Linked DNA regions of Homo sapiens: all the other regions are linked to region 1. The links are contacts of gene promoters, found by promoter capture Hi-C in blood cells and fetal thymus (Javierre and others, 2016). All regions are on one chromosome and are shown on one strand. Each heading gives the region's core, a stretch centred on a gene start or on the middle of the fragment in contact. The rest is flanking DNA. Distances are from core to core; before and after follow the strand shown. Region 1 holds the start of PRKDC (protein kinase, DNA-activated, catalytic subunit). Region 2 overlaps PRKDC (protein kinase, DNA-activated, catalytic subunit). Region 3 overlaps PRKDC (protein kinase, DNA-activated, catalytic subunit). Region 4 overlaps UBE2V2 (ubiquitin conjugating enzyme E2 V2).

Region 1 (2,765 bases), core at 139-2,638:
ACTCCGAGCTTGTGTCACACAAAACAGAAAAGACAGCCATTAACTTTCAGGGCCGGCCTTCCTGGATTTGTCTTTTCCTTGGGGCATTATGACTCACCACTGAACCAAACCAAACAGAGGCAAATGGCAATCGAATTAAGCAGCACCCAGGCCACAGCCTGCTGTGGGTGTCTGTGCGCACCAAGCGGCAGCGCCCAGCCCGAGGCTGAGCGCCCGGGTCCCGCGCACCCACCCAGCGCTGCCAGCTGCGGCGAGAGGGCAGACGGGGCGGCGCCGGGGGCTGTAGTGGGCCCGGCTCGGGGGACTCACGCGTCTGGGCGGGGGTGGCCCTTCCACGCCGGCTGCCGCGGCGGCTCGGGGTCGACGCCGGGGACGACATAGTGCTCGGAGTACCTGCGCGACAAGGACAAGCTCGGGCCGGGCCCGCCTCCCGGCTTCCCTGCCCTGCTCCGCAGCGCGGACGTTCCCGTCGGCTCCGCGCCACGCCCTCCCCGCCGGCGCGCGGTTACCGTGGAAAGGCGGCCGCTTGCCGACGACGCTCGCGGACTCCGAGTCCACCTGGCGAGTAGCGCTCCCAAACCGCGAGACCCAGAGTTCCCGCCGGCGGCAAGGTCGTCTCCGCCCCTGGCGGGGCCTCACCAATCACAGCGGCGCTCGTACGTGGCTCCGCCTCCGGGAGGCGCCACTGCGCATCGGCAGGGGGGGACAGTGCCGCTTCTTTCAGCGCCCGTGCGTAAACCAGAAGTAGGCCTCGCTCGGCCCCCCTTGGTCCAGATGGTCTGACCCCCTGCGCGGCAGCGTTTTCGCGGGAAAACTGGGTCCTACAGCACCAGCTCTCGGGGTGTGTTCCTCTAGCGTTGGCTAGGGAGCGTGTGCTTCTTTATCCCTTAGGCGTTTTTGGTTAATAAGGACATTACAGATGCATTTCTCACTTAAAGATTTTTTTTATTAAAAAAAATTAAGGACGGGAGGTGGTGGGGATGGTCTCATTATGTTGCCCAGACTGGTCTCGAACTCCTGCGATCCCCCCGCCTCAGCTTCCTAAAGTGTTGGGACTGCAGGCGGGCATCACCGCCCCCGACCGCGTTTGTCGTTTTTTATCGAGGAACAAACTTGGAACTCTTGACCTAGGCCCCTCGCTTGTTTTATCTGCCTCTGGTATTTATTTAGCCAAGTCCAACACCAAGTAGCCACCCAAACTACCTCCGCAGGTCAGACGTTTTTCCTTAGGTTTCCATGTTGATTCGGGCCAAAGAGGCGCGCTTACTGGCCAGGCCTTCCCGCAGGGGTCCCCGGGAAAGTTCCTGCCGCCGCGCCCCGCAGCCCCGCCTCCGCGCGTAGGGGCATTTCCGGGTCCGGGCCGAGCGGGCGCACGCGCGGGAGCGGGACTCGGCGGCATGGCGGGCTCCGGAGCCGGTGTGCGTTGCTCCCTGCTGCGGCTGCAGGAGACCTTGTCCGCTGCGGACCGCTGCGGTGCTGCCCTGGCCGGTCATCAACTGATCCGCGGCCTGGGGCAGGAATGCGTCCTGAGCAGCAGCCCCGCGGTGCTGGGTGGGTACCGGCCCGAGCTGGGCCGCGGGTGGGTCCTGGCTTCCCGAGTCGTTCTGGAGCCGGGCAGCCCGGCGCTTCTCTGTGTTTAGATGACGGTATTTTGAAGTACAGCAATTAGATTCTTGGGGGAATTTCTGTGTATGTGTATAAAGGGATTTGTCATACTGCTTTTTACCCCCTAGTATTAGAGGAAAGATATTTTAAAGCCAAAGTTGGTGAAAACGACCCCTAATATGGCAATCATTGCTATGCAGAGTGGGGGGCAGGGCAAGAGAAATAATTTTTTTTTTTTTTGAGACGGAGTCTCGCTCTGTCGCCCAGGCTGGAGTGAAGTGGCGCGATCTCGGCTCACTGCAACCTCCGCCTCCCGGGTTCAAGCTATTCTCCTGCCTCAGCCCCCCGAGTAGCTGGGATTACAGGCGCGCGCCACCACGCCCGGCTAATTTTTTTGTATTTTTAGTAGAGATGGGGTTTCACCATGTTGGTCAGGCTGGTCTCGAACTCCTGACCTCGTGATCCCCCCGCCTCGGCCTCCCAAAGTGCTGGGATTACAGACGTGAGCCACCGGGCCCGGCCAAGAGAAAGTATTTTCTTTCACCTGAATCTCGCCTAATCCCACCAGTACCTTTTCCAAACCCCTCTATTTGCCGTTCCTACTTTGAGAAAAATTGAAGAAATGTAATTGAAGTCATGTTCTTTTAACTCTTTAGCAATGCCTGGGTGGGAACTTTTTCCCCTTTGTAGTAAAAGTGCCTCTTTTTAGCATTTTAAATATTCAAATACTTAATTATGTGGATCTCCTGTATTCCTTCTTTAAAACACGAGTATGCAGACCTTGATGTTGTGCCCTATTAAAAGGTGAGATTTTCTTCCGGAGGGTCTAGTAGTGAATATGGTGTAGGAATAACTTAAACAGTTTAAACTAGATGCTATATGTGGCACGGTGCGGTGGCTCATGCCTGTAATCCCAGCACTTTGGGAGGCTGTGGCAGCTGGATCACCTGAGGTCAGGAGATGGAGACCAACCTGACCAGTATGGTGAAACCTTGTCTCTACTAAAAATACAAAAATTAACTGGGCATGGTGGCGAGCGCCTGTAGTCCCAGCTATTCGGGAGGCTGAGACAGGAGAATGTCTTGAACCCAGGAGAAGGAGATTGCAGTGAGCCGAGATTGTGCCACTGCACTCCAGCCTGGGCAACAGAGCACGACTCC
Region 2 (2,765 bases), core at 81-2,580, 130 kb after region 1:
TAGGGTGCCACCAGGTGTGTCCTGGCAGGTGGTCCTGCCCCGTGCACAGAGCTGGGTGATGCTGAGTGCCTGACCTCTCTGATTGCATGTCACAGATGGAAGAAGCTCATTTGATTGGCTGACCGGGAGCAGCACTGACCCGCTGGTCGACCACACCAGTCCCTCATCTGACTCCTTGCTGTTTGCCCACAAGAGGAGTGAAAGGTTACAGAGAGCACCCTTGAAGTCAGTGGGGCCTGATTTTGGGAAAAAAAGGCTGGGCCTTCCAGGGGACGAGGTGGATAACAAAGTGAAAGGTAAGCTGGGTTGCTGAGTGTGCTTAAAATAGCTTCCCCACTAAATTACTGCAGAGCTCAGGTCTGGGGACATTTCTGACTGTATCCATGTTTCCTTCTCATTCGTAATCAAGCCCTTTAAAATTCAGTTAATGTTGCCTAGGCACTCACCATGCTGAAGAAATTGTTTTCTGGGAGTTCCAGAAGAATCCTTCAGTAAGTTATACTCGATCCATTGTTGAGTGATCTTCTGGAGCAGTAAGAGTGGGTGAGGCATTTATAAAGGGGTGATTGTAACAAGAGGTGGAATTAGCAAGCATGGTCTAGGGCTAGAGGGCTTAATACAGGTGGAGAATGAGGAGAGCGTCCAAAAAGACTGGGTGGAGGAAGAGCATTTGAGAGGAGCCTTGGAGCTGGGGGTGCAGGAAGGGAAAGGATGAAAAGGACAGGGATGGAGAAGTGTCAGGGTGGGTAGGCTCAGATCGATTCTGCAGTCCAGGTGAAGGGACGCTTCGGGGCATGCTAGAGTAACGGCAAAGGGTGCTGTGAGGACAGTCTTGTGGGTGTGGGGGTGTATGTCGAACTTCAGCTTTAGGAAGCAGCCTTGTAACGCACCGAGCAGAGGAAGGCACGGGGACTGAATGCCCTTCTCTGAGGTTTGTGTGGGGCAGAAGTGGAGTGATGGGGACTGGAGGCAGGCACCAGGACCTGGTCTTGGCTAACAGATGACCAGAACTAGACGGGTGCCGAGAGGCTGGAAGCAGCTTTTTGTGAGAAAGAAGTGAGGCTCTGGGAGGGAACAAGGGCCCAGAGGAAGGACATGTGCAGAGAGGAAAGGGCCCATGACAGAACCCTGGGGGAGCGCCAGCAGGGAAGCTCAGCTCTGTGGAAGTAAACTTAGAAGAACTTAGAAGCAAAGCTCCCTGCCTTCTTATCTAATCGTAGGAACTGAAACACAGGCAACAAAACTTGCTTTACTCCACCACTCTCTCATACTTTTCAGTCACAAACCTGTGGCCCACACACAGTTCTCTAAATGGAACCTGGAGAGGTCAGTGTGGCCCACCTTTTGGCATGTGCTGTGAGTTGAAGGAGTGCTGGTGGCGGTTGTTCAGGTGGAGCCACCTGGGTGCTGAGAATGGGGTCAGCAGCAGGGAGCTTTCTCTGGGATCTGATGGCTTGGTGGTCTGGCGGGAGTGCTGCTGTGGAGCTCCATACGTGGGGCCCCTGGACTCCCTGCTTTGCAGGGCTGCGGGCGCCAGGCCTGGTGCCATCCTCCTTGGGGATGCTTTGTGAGAACGTGGGTCTTTTCTCTGTGGATGCTCTCGGGATCTTCTCTTTTAAACCAGTGTTCTGACATTGCGCACAAGTGTCCTTGGGCGTAGATCCGTTTCAGTCTGTTTTTCTGGGCATATGGCGGGAGCTTCCAGGCCGCTGACTCTCACCTTCCAGTTCTGGAGCATCATCACAGGTGATTTTGTTGAGTTCTTCATCTCAGTTTGCTGTTTTCTCTTTTTGGAGTCCTAGTGCTTAGATATCTCACCTGCGTGAGTGTCCTTCTGAGGTGTCATATTTTTTCCTTTTCCTCTTTTCTGGGAAATCCCTTCAACCTTATCTTTCAACCTGTGCTTTTAAGTTATGACACGTTTCAGTTTCCATGAGCTTTTTTTCATGCTCTGAACATTTCTTCAGTTCCTACTCTTCTCTTTCTGATAAATGATCATGTTTTGAAATTTTTTCCTGCATGATCTGCTTTTAACAGTTGCTCTTTCCTTGTTGCTTACTTTGGCTTGTGTTGTTCATATTTGAAACTTTCCTTAGAACCTGTCGTGATTTGGAGGTTAAGGCTGGTGTCTCCTGGTGGGGTACTAAACAGGCATTTGGAATCATACGGGTTAGGAGTGTTGCGGTCACCTGTCCCTGGTCAGGTTGCCACAGTCCCGAGGGAGGCTGGTCTGCACCAGGTGTTGAAGCCTCCGAGGCAGCTCCTCTCTAGTTCAGTTAGCCAGAGGCAAAGCACTGCCAGGCGAGTTGGGCGGGGGTTCAGAAGGTGGCTGCGTGCCCTCCCTGGGCCTCCCTCTGGAGGGGCCTGGCCCGTTCAGCGCTCATGCCTGCTGAATCCACTGCTGAGCAGTTCCAGTTGCAGCTGTGGCCCCTGCACTCCTGCTCCCGGTCGCTGCCTCTGCGGCACCTGTAGGTTTTGTCTTTGAGGAAACCCGAGGTGAAAATGAACCAGCAGAGCCAAGTGTCTGGGCGGCGGGGAGTAACTGGGCCTGCTTTCCCTCTCCAGGTGCGGCCGGCCGGACGGACCTACTACGACTGCGCAGACGGTTTATGAGGGACCAGGAGAAGCTCAGTTTGATGTATGCCAGAAAAGGCGTTGCTGAGCAAAAACGAGAGAAGGTTTGTATCTTGTCAAGAATTTGATCAGAACGATGCAGTTTCTGTCACAGGATACAGACGAAGTGAACAGGCTTCCTGCCAGACACT
Region 3 (2,765 bases), core at 143-2,642, 100 kb after region 1:
GCCAAGAGATCTTCCTTCTTGGATGAAATTCCTCCATGGCAAACTGGGAAATCCAATAGTACCATTAAATATCCGTCTCTTCTTAGCCAAGCTTGTTATTAATACAGAAGAGGTAAGTAATTGATTATTTCTTTATTCTTTGAATAGATTCTGTAAGTCTGTTTATTCAATTCTATGAATGAATCAATTGCAATTCTATGAATATACTTAAAAACACACACAAAAAAGGAAAATATAAAGGGGCAGAGCATGACATTTTTGTTCTCTGATTAGCCACCCAATATTTATCTACTTGTTCATCACCATTCTTTTATCGTTTTTAACATATGTAAATTCACCTCTCGTGAGTTAGAAGTGGTCTTTGTATAAAGTACATGTAGCTGCTTTCTTACGGCTGCCAACGTTCTTTCCTTATAGTAGGAAAAAAAAAAGCGGGGGGTGGAGCGGGGGAGAAAATATTCCTGTTAACTCTATATGAAAAACAGCGGACTCTTAGGCAATTGCTGAGTTCGTGAGGTAGGAGCATCTTGGAGTCCATTTTGGAAAGGCCTTTGAGCTAGACGTGGTGAAGTGCAGTGAGAGTTTGCACTAGGCAGGGAAGGAGTAGCATAGCACGGGTGGTCCCTGGGTGAGCCAAGCAGGTCTGCACTGACTGCCTGGGCTGTGGGAGTGTGGTCTGGACCAGAGCCAGGCCAGGCCATCCAGAGCTATGCAGAGGGTTGGGCTCATTCATTGAGCACCAGGGAACCACTAAGGGCACTAAGTGGTGGGGTGACACCATCCACTTGGCTCCGTAGAAGGTCATTCTGGGCAGCTCTGCAGACATGGCGAGTCTGTCAGGACATCCCTGACAGGCTGCTCTAGGGCTGCAGCAGCACCTTCTTTCCTCGGGGCTCACTTGATTCTTCACACCCTGGGCACATGGTCTCAGGGTGCCATACTGGGGGGACTCAGACAGCCGTGGCCTGAGATCAAGCTGCTGGCAGGGTTGGTTCCTTCGAGAGCTATGAGAGAGCCTGGTCCAGGCTACTCCTAGCATCCGGCAGCCTCAAGCACTATGTGGTGTGTCACAGGCATTCTCCCTGTGTCTTCACCTCATCTTCCCCCTTGTATCTGTCTCTGTGTCCTGATTTCCTCTTTTAATAAGGACACCAGTCATATTTGATTAGGGCCCACACTAATGCCTTCACTTTAACGTGCTTACCTCGCTTTTGGCTTTAGGTCCAGTCATAGTATAAAATTTTAGCTGATGGAAGATACAGTCTTGTATTAATATTTTGGCAATTTAAGACCATTCTTTGATGTTTGACTTTTACATCCTCTTGTAGGTCTTTCGCCCTTACGCGAAGCACTGGCTTAGCCCCTTGCTGCAGCTGGCTGCTTCTGAAAACAATGGAGGAGAAGGAATTCACTACATGGTGGTTGAGATAGTGGCCACTATTCTTTCATGGACAGGCTTGGCCACTCCAACAGTAAGGATTGATGCATCTTTTATGTTAATATATTATCCTTTGCCAATAGCCTATAGAGCCTATGACACATAATTCAGGTCCCTCTCACTGACTGTGCTATGGTTTTCAGCATTTGTTGCTACATTGCTGGTGTGCTCCTAAACCAAATGGCCTCAGCCTGCTTTGGTTTTGTTTTGTTTCCTTTGCCTTTGGTAATTCGTCTGACCTTGCTTTTATTATGAAGCTGTCAGGTGTTTGTTTTGTTTTGTTTGCTGCCTTTACTTGCCTTAGAAATGAGATTGCAAATTTATTAAAACTATGTGTAAACTGAATTTCAACCAACCCTGAATGGGAGGCTCTGAGGACTCCTGCCTTGAAGTCCCTGGATTTTGGCATTTGTGCCATCTTCTCTACTCCCAGAGTATTGACTAATACCAGCAATGGCAAGATTAGGGCTAAAGCAGTAGCTGCCAGATGATAACACCATGTTATGTTGAGGCAAATGCAGTACCCACCAGTGTAGACATGTGTGTGTGTGTTGGTGCTTTGCCTACTCATTTAAAACTGTGGACACTGACAGCATACAAACGTTTTCATGTGAGGAGATGGTAAGAACAGTCTGTATTAAATATAATATACACATGCGGGGCTAGGCATGATGGCTCACACCTGTAATCCCAGCACTTTGGGAGACCAAGGCAGGCAGATCACTTAAGGTCAGGAGTTTGAGACCAGCCTGGCCAACATGGTGAAACCTTATCTGTACTAAAAAAATGCAAAAATTAACTGGACATGGTGCTGCATGTCTATAATCCTAGCTATTCGGGAGGCTGAGGCAGGAGAATTGCTTAAACCCGGGAGGCGGAGGTTGTGGTGAGCTGAAATGGCACTACTGTAGCTCCAGCCTGGGCGACAGAGTGAGACTACGTTCCCCCAGCTCCACCACCACCCCCCCACCACAAAAAAATACGTGGAGCTTTCTCACACGCTTGTCTCTGGATGTACCTATCTCATTTGTTTCACAGTTAACCAAATTTAGATTTCTTTGTCTTAGTGTAATGAAATACTTTGTTTTCTGCTTAATAAAATGAAAAAATTAAGAGGGGTTCAGTTTAACAAGGGTCCGTTGAAAGAGATTGATGTAGCTGTCAGTGGCTCAGCTGAACTCAAGAGAGTGGAACTGCCGGGCTCGAGGTAGCTGAATAAAGCAACAGCAAGCCAGAAAGGTTGCCGTGAAGCTTTTACTCACTCTGGAGTCATGGGAGTGAGAGGCTAACACTGGAGGGAGACTCCCCTTGTTCTGTTTGCCCCTAG
Region 4 (2,765 bases), core at 119-2,618, 91 kb before region 1:
ACTGAAAGAACACAAACAGAATGAAAGAAGTTGAGAACAACCATTCCAAAAGTAGGCAAGAAACATGTAGAAAAATAGAAACCACCAAATAAGATGATCTGTTTAAACCTGAACATGTCAGTAATTAAGAATATTAAATGTAAATGGACTAAATGCTCCCAGTAAATCACAAAGACTGACCAACTGAGGACTGTGAGGGCTGGAGAGACTCTCAGGTCCCAGCTCTGAGTTGGCACAGGGGTGGGGGGGTGTTAATGGCCCAGCAGGTGCAGGGCTAAGGTTTCCAATGACCTTTCCCAGCTTCTTCCTTTCTCAGGGTCATGCTTTATTTGGCCTGGTGCCTCCCTGCTGGATGCACCAGCCAATCTGGGGCCCCGCCTCAGACCTGCGTATTAGGTTGGGGTTGAGGGGCAGGGAGCTGGCTGTGAATCCAAGATTCAACTTGTTGCCAGAAGTACAGTTATATGAAGGGGAAATTGAGCAAATAAGTAAATGCACTGGGAAGCATGGGAGCCAGGTTTCTCAACTGGAAAGGAAGAATCATAGAACAAACCCTATAGTTTTAGAATAAAATTAGTGGGAGTTGTTAGTATAAACTCGTGATTTTTAACAGATGGTAAACAGATGAGAAGGAAAGAGAGAAGGAGAGAAGAAAGGAGGATGAATTTGTGTACATATGTGATACATTTGTAGTACAAAATACACTGGTAGAGAGAGGGAACGCAGGGATGGGATGAGAAATCAAGGATACTGAGGCCCTATTTCCTAAGATGGATGATACTCATTTTATGATGATGATATGTTATTTTGCTTCCTAAAATGTATTTTGTATGTGGCGTGCTCTCAACATGGCACCAAGAGAGCCTAGGCTTCAAAGACTTATCATGAACTTAACAATCTACTCATACTGGAAATTCAGCTGTTTCTACTAACTAACTTGTGTGGGTCAAGCAGGGCATGTCATTTTGTTTAAAGAGACAATGGGCTGGACACAGTGGCTCACGCCTGTAATCCCAGCACTTTGGGAGGCCAAGGTGGGCAGATCACTTGAGGTCAGGAGTTGAGTCCAGCCTGGCCAACATGACGAAACCCCATCTCTACCAAAAAATACAAAAATTAGATGGGCTTGGTGGCATGTGCCTTGTAGTCTCACATACTTGGGAGGCTGAAGTGGGAGAATCACTTGAGGCCACAGGAAGTGGGGGAGTACCACTGCACTACAGCCTGGGGGACAGAGTGAAACCCAAAAATAAATAGACAATGATGCTCAGCCATGACTGTTTCAACACAGACATATTTGCTCTTTAAAGAAAAAAACCCTTCATGAATATTCATCCTTTTCATGAACAGTCATCCTTTTAATCCCACCAAATGTACCTTAACCCTCAGAAAAGTAACATTCAAAGAGAAATAATGATCATCTCTTTTTTTTTTTTTTTTTGAGACGGAGTTTCGCTCTTTCACCCAGGCTGGAGTGCAGTGGCACAATCTCTACAAGCGTGAGCCACCATGCCCCGCCCAATAATGGTCATCTTTTTACCAAATAAAGATCAACTGAAATATGACTATTAAGGCAATTAAAACCCTAAGAAAACTTTTGGCCAGGCACAGTGGCTCATACCTGTAATCCCAGCACTTTGGGAGGCCGAGCCGGGCGGATCAACTAAGGTCAGGAGTTCGAGACCAGCCTGGCCATTGTGAAACCCCGTCTCTACAAAAATACAAAAATTAACTGGGCATGATGGCAGGTGCCTGTAATCCCAGCTACTCGGGAGGTTGAGGCAGGAGAATCACTTGAAGCCGGGAGGCAGAGGTTGCAGTGAGCCAAGATCGCACAATTGTACTCCAGCCTGGGTGACAGAGTGAGACTCTGTTTCAAAAAAAAAAGAAAAGAAAAAAAAAGTTTTAACCACCACATGCATCTATTCTAGGCAAGTACATTAAGGTTTTTAAGGATGGCCTAATTTATATTAATAAAAGAAAAACAACATAATGCAACCTTCTTTAGACTTTTGGCTTAACAAAGGTCCTCTTTTAAAAACTTTCTCCTAACTACATATTAATATCTTACATATATTATGGTGTGTGTACGTATAATATATAACTCTATACATTATGTTATATAAAACCAAAATGACTATATTAACTTACCATCCCACTGGAATTATTTATTCCGTTCATATTAATTTTTGTTACAAATCTAACTGACGGAGGAGCTTCTGGGTATTTAGGTCCACATTCTACTTTCAGGCTATATATTCTGTTTTCATAATTTGTCTGGAAGGCAAAAAACAAAAAGATAATCAAAATAACAATACCTAAAATATTAATGTCTAAGTGCTAAAAAAAAAAAAGGGAAAGTACAATATGAATGTACGTAAGACAGTGTTTATGATTAAGAATTTATTTTTCTACATTCAAATTTATTTCACCTATATGGTGAGAAAAAATGCAATAAGCATACTTAAAAATTGAGATTTTACAAAATTAATTCCATGAGATTTTACAAAATTAATTCTACAAAGTATTATCAATATGATCCCAAGTTGCTTTTGTGATAAAAATGATGCCTGTAACAAATTAGAACGAAGAAGGAAAAACGAAAAAGCAAACCACTTAAATTTAGATTTTGCTAAAAAGTTTACATTGTAGAGGGAGGGGCTACTTGAGACTTGTGTTAAACATATATGAAGGTTTCTGTTTTACAGAACAGTTCTGCTTATTCCTATTGTCCCAGAATTGACTATTAACAGTGCCTCCTTTCA

What was found. The method cuts DNA at HindIII sites, captures the fragments that hold promoters and counts their contacts. A CHiCAGO score of 5 or more calls a contact.
Region 2: a contact is called between a fragment that was not itself captured here and the fragment with the promoter of PRKDC in region 1, in 12 of 17 cell types (erythroblasts, neutrophils, activated CD4 T cells and 9 more). The highest score is 12.9, in erythroblasts.
Region 3: a contact is called between a fragment that was not itself captured here and the fragment with the promoter of PRKDC in region 1, in 12 of 17 cell types (erythroblasts, activated CD4 T cells, fetal thymus and 9 more). The highest score is 14.1, in erythroblasts.
Region 4: a fragment that was not itself captured here is called in contact with the fragment with the promoter of PRKDC in region 1 in 1 of 17 cell types (naive CD4 T cells); the score reaches 5.4 in naive CD4 T cells.

The regions. Positions count from the first base shown.
Region 1 is chr8:47,958,759-47,961,523 of GRCh38, reverse strand. It overlaps PRKDC (protein kinase, DNA-activated, catalytic subunit), which reads left to right and starts at 1,388. Exons shown (of 86, transcript NM_006904.7): 1 at 1,388-1,551. The coding sequence starts at 1,398. MCM4 (minichromosome maintenance complex component 4) reads right to left here and starts at 583. Exons shown (of 17, transcript NM_182746.3): 1 at 510-583; 2 at 310-393; 3 at 1-8. The coding sequence starts at 379. RefSeq lists silencers at 150-549, 1,220-1,519, 1,530-1,579 and an enhancer at 1,760-1,919. The HindIII fragment of the contact is 8,899 bases long and covers 1-2,765 here.
Region 2 is chr8:47,831,727-47,834,491 of GRCh38, reverse strand. PRKDC (protein kinase, DNA-activated, catalytic subunit) reads left to right here. Exons shown (of 86, transcript NM_006904.7): 59 at 96-296; 60 at 2,566-2,678. Among named protein-coding and RNA genes, the nearest start is that of CEBPD, 95 kb to the right of the region's middle. The HindIII fragment of the contact is 8,728 bases long and covers 1-2,765 here.
Region 3 is chr8:47,855,863-47,858,627 of GRCh38, reverse strand. PRKDC (protein kinase, DNA-activated, catalytic subunit) reads left to right here. Exons shown (of 86, transcript NM_006904.7): 48 at 1-112; 49 at 1,329-1,472. Among named protein-coding and RNA genes, the nearest start is that of PRKDC, 100 kb to the left of the region's middle. RefSeq lists an enhancer at 279-778. The HindIII fragment of the contact is 2,598 bases long and covers 94-2,691 here.
Region 4 is chr8:48,049,365-48,052,129 of GRCh38, reverse strand. It overlaps UBE2V2 (ubiquitin conjugating enzyme E2 V2), which reads right to left. Exons shown (of 4, transcript NM_003350.3): 3 at 2,152-2,277. Among named protein-coding and RNA genes, the nearest start is that of UBE2V2, 42 kb to the right of the region's middle. The HindIII fragment of the contact is 3,323 bases long and covers 1-2,765 here.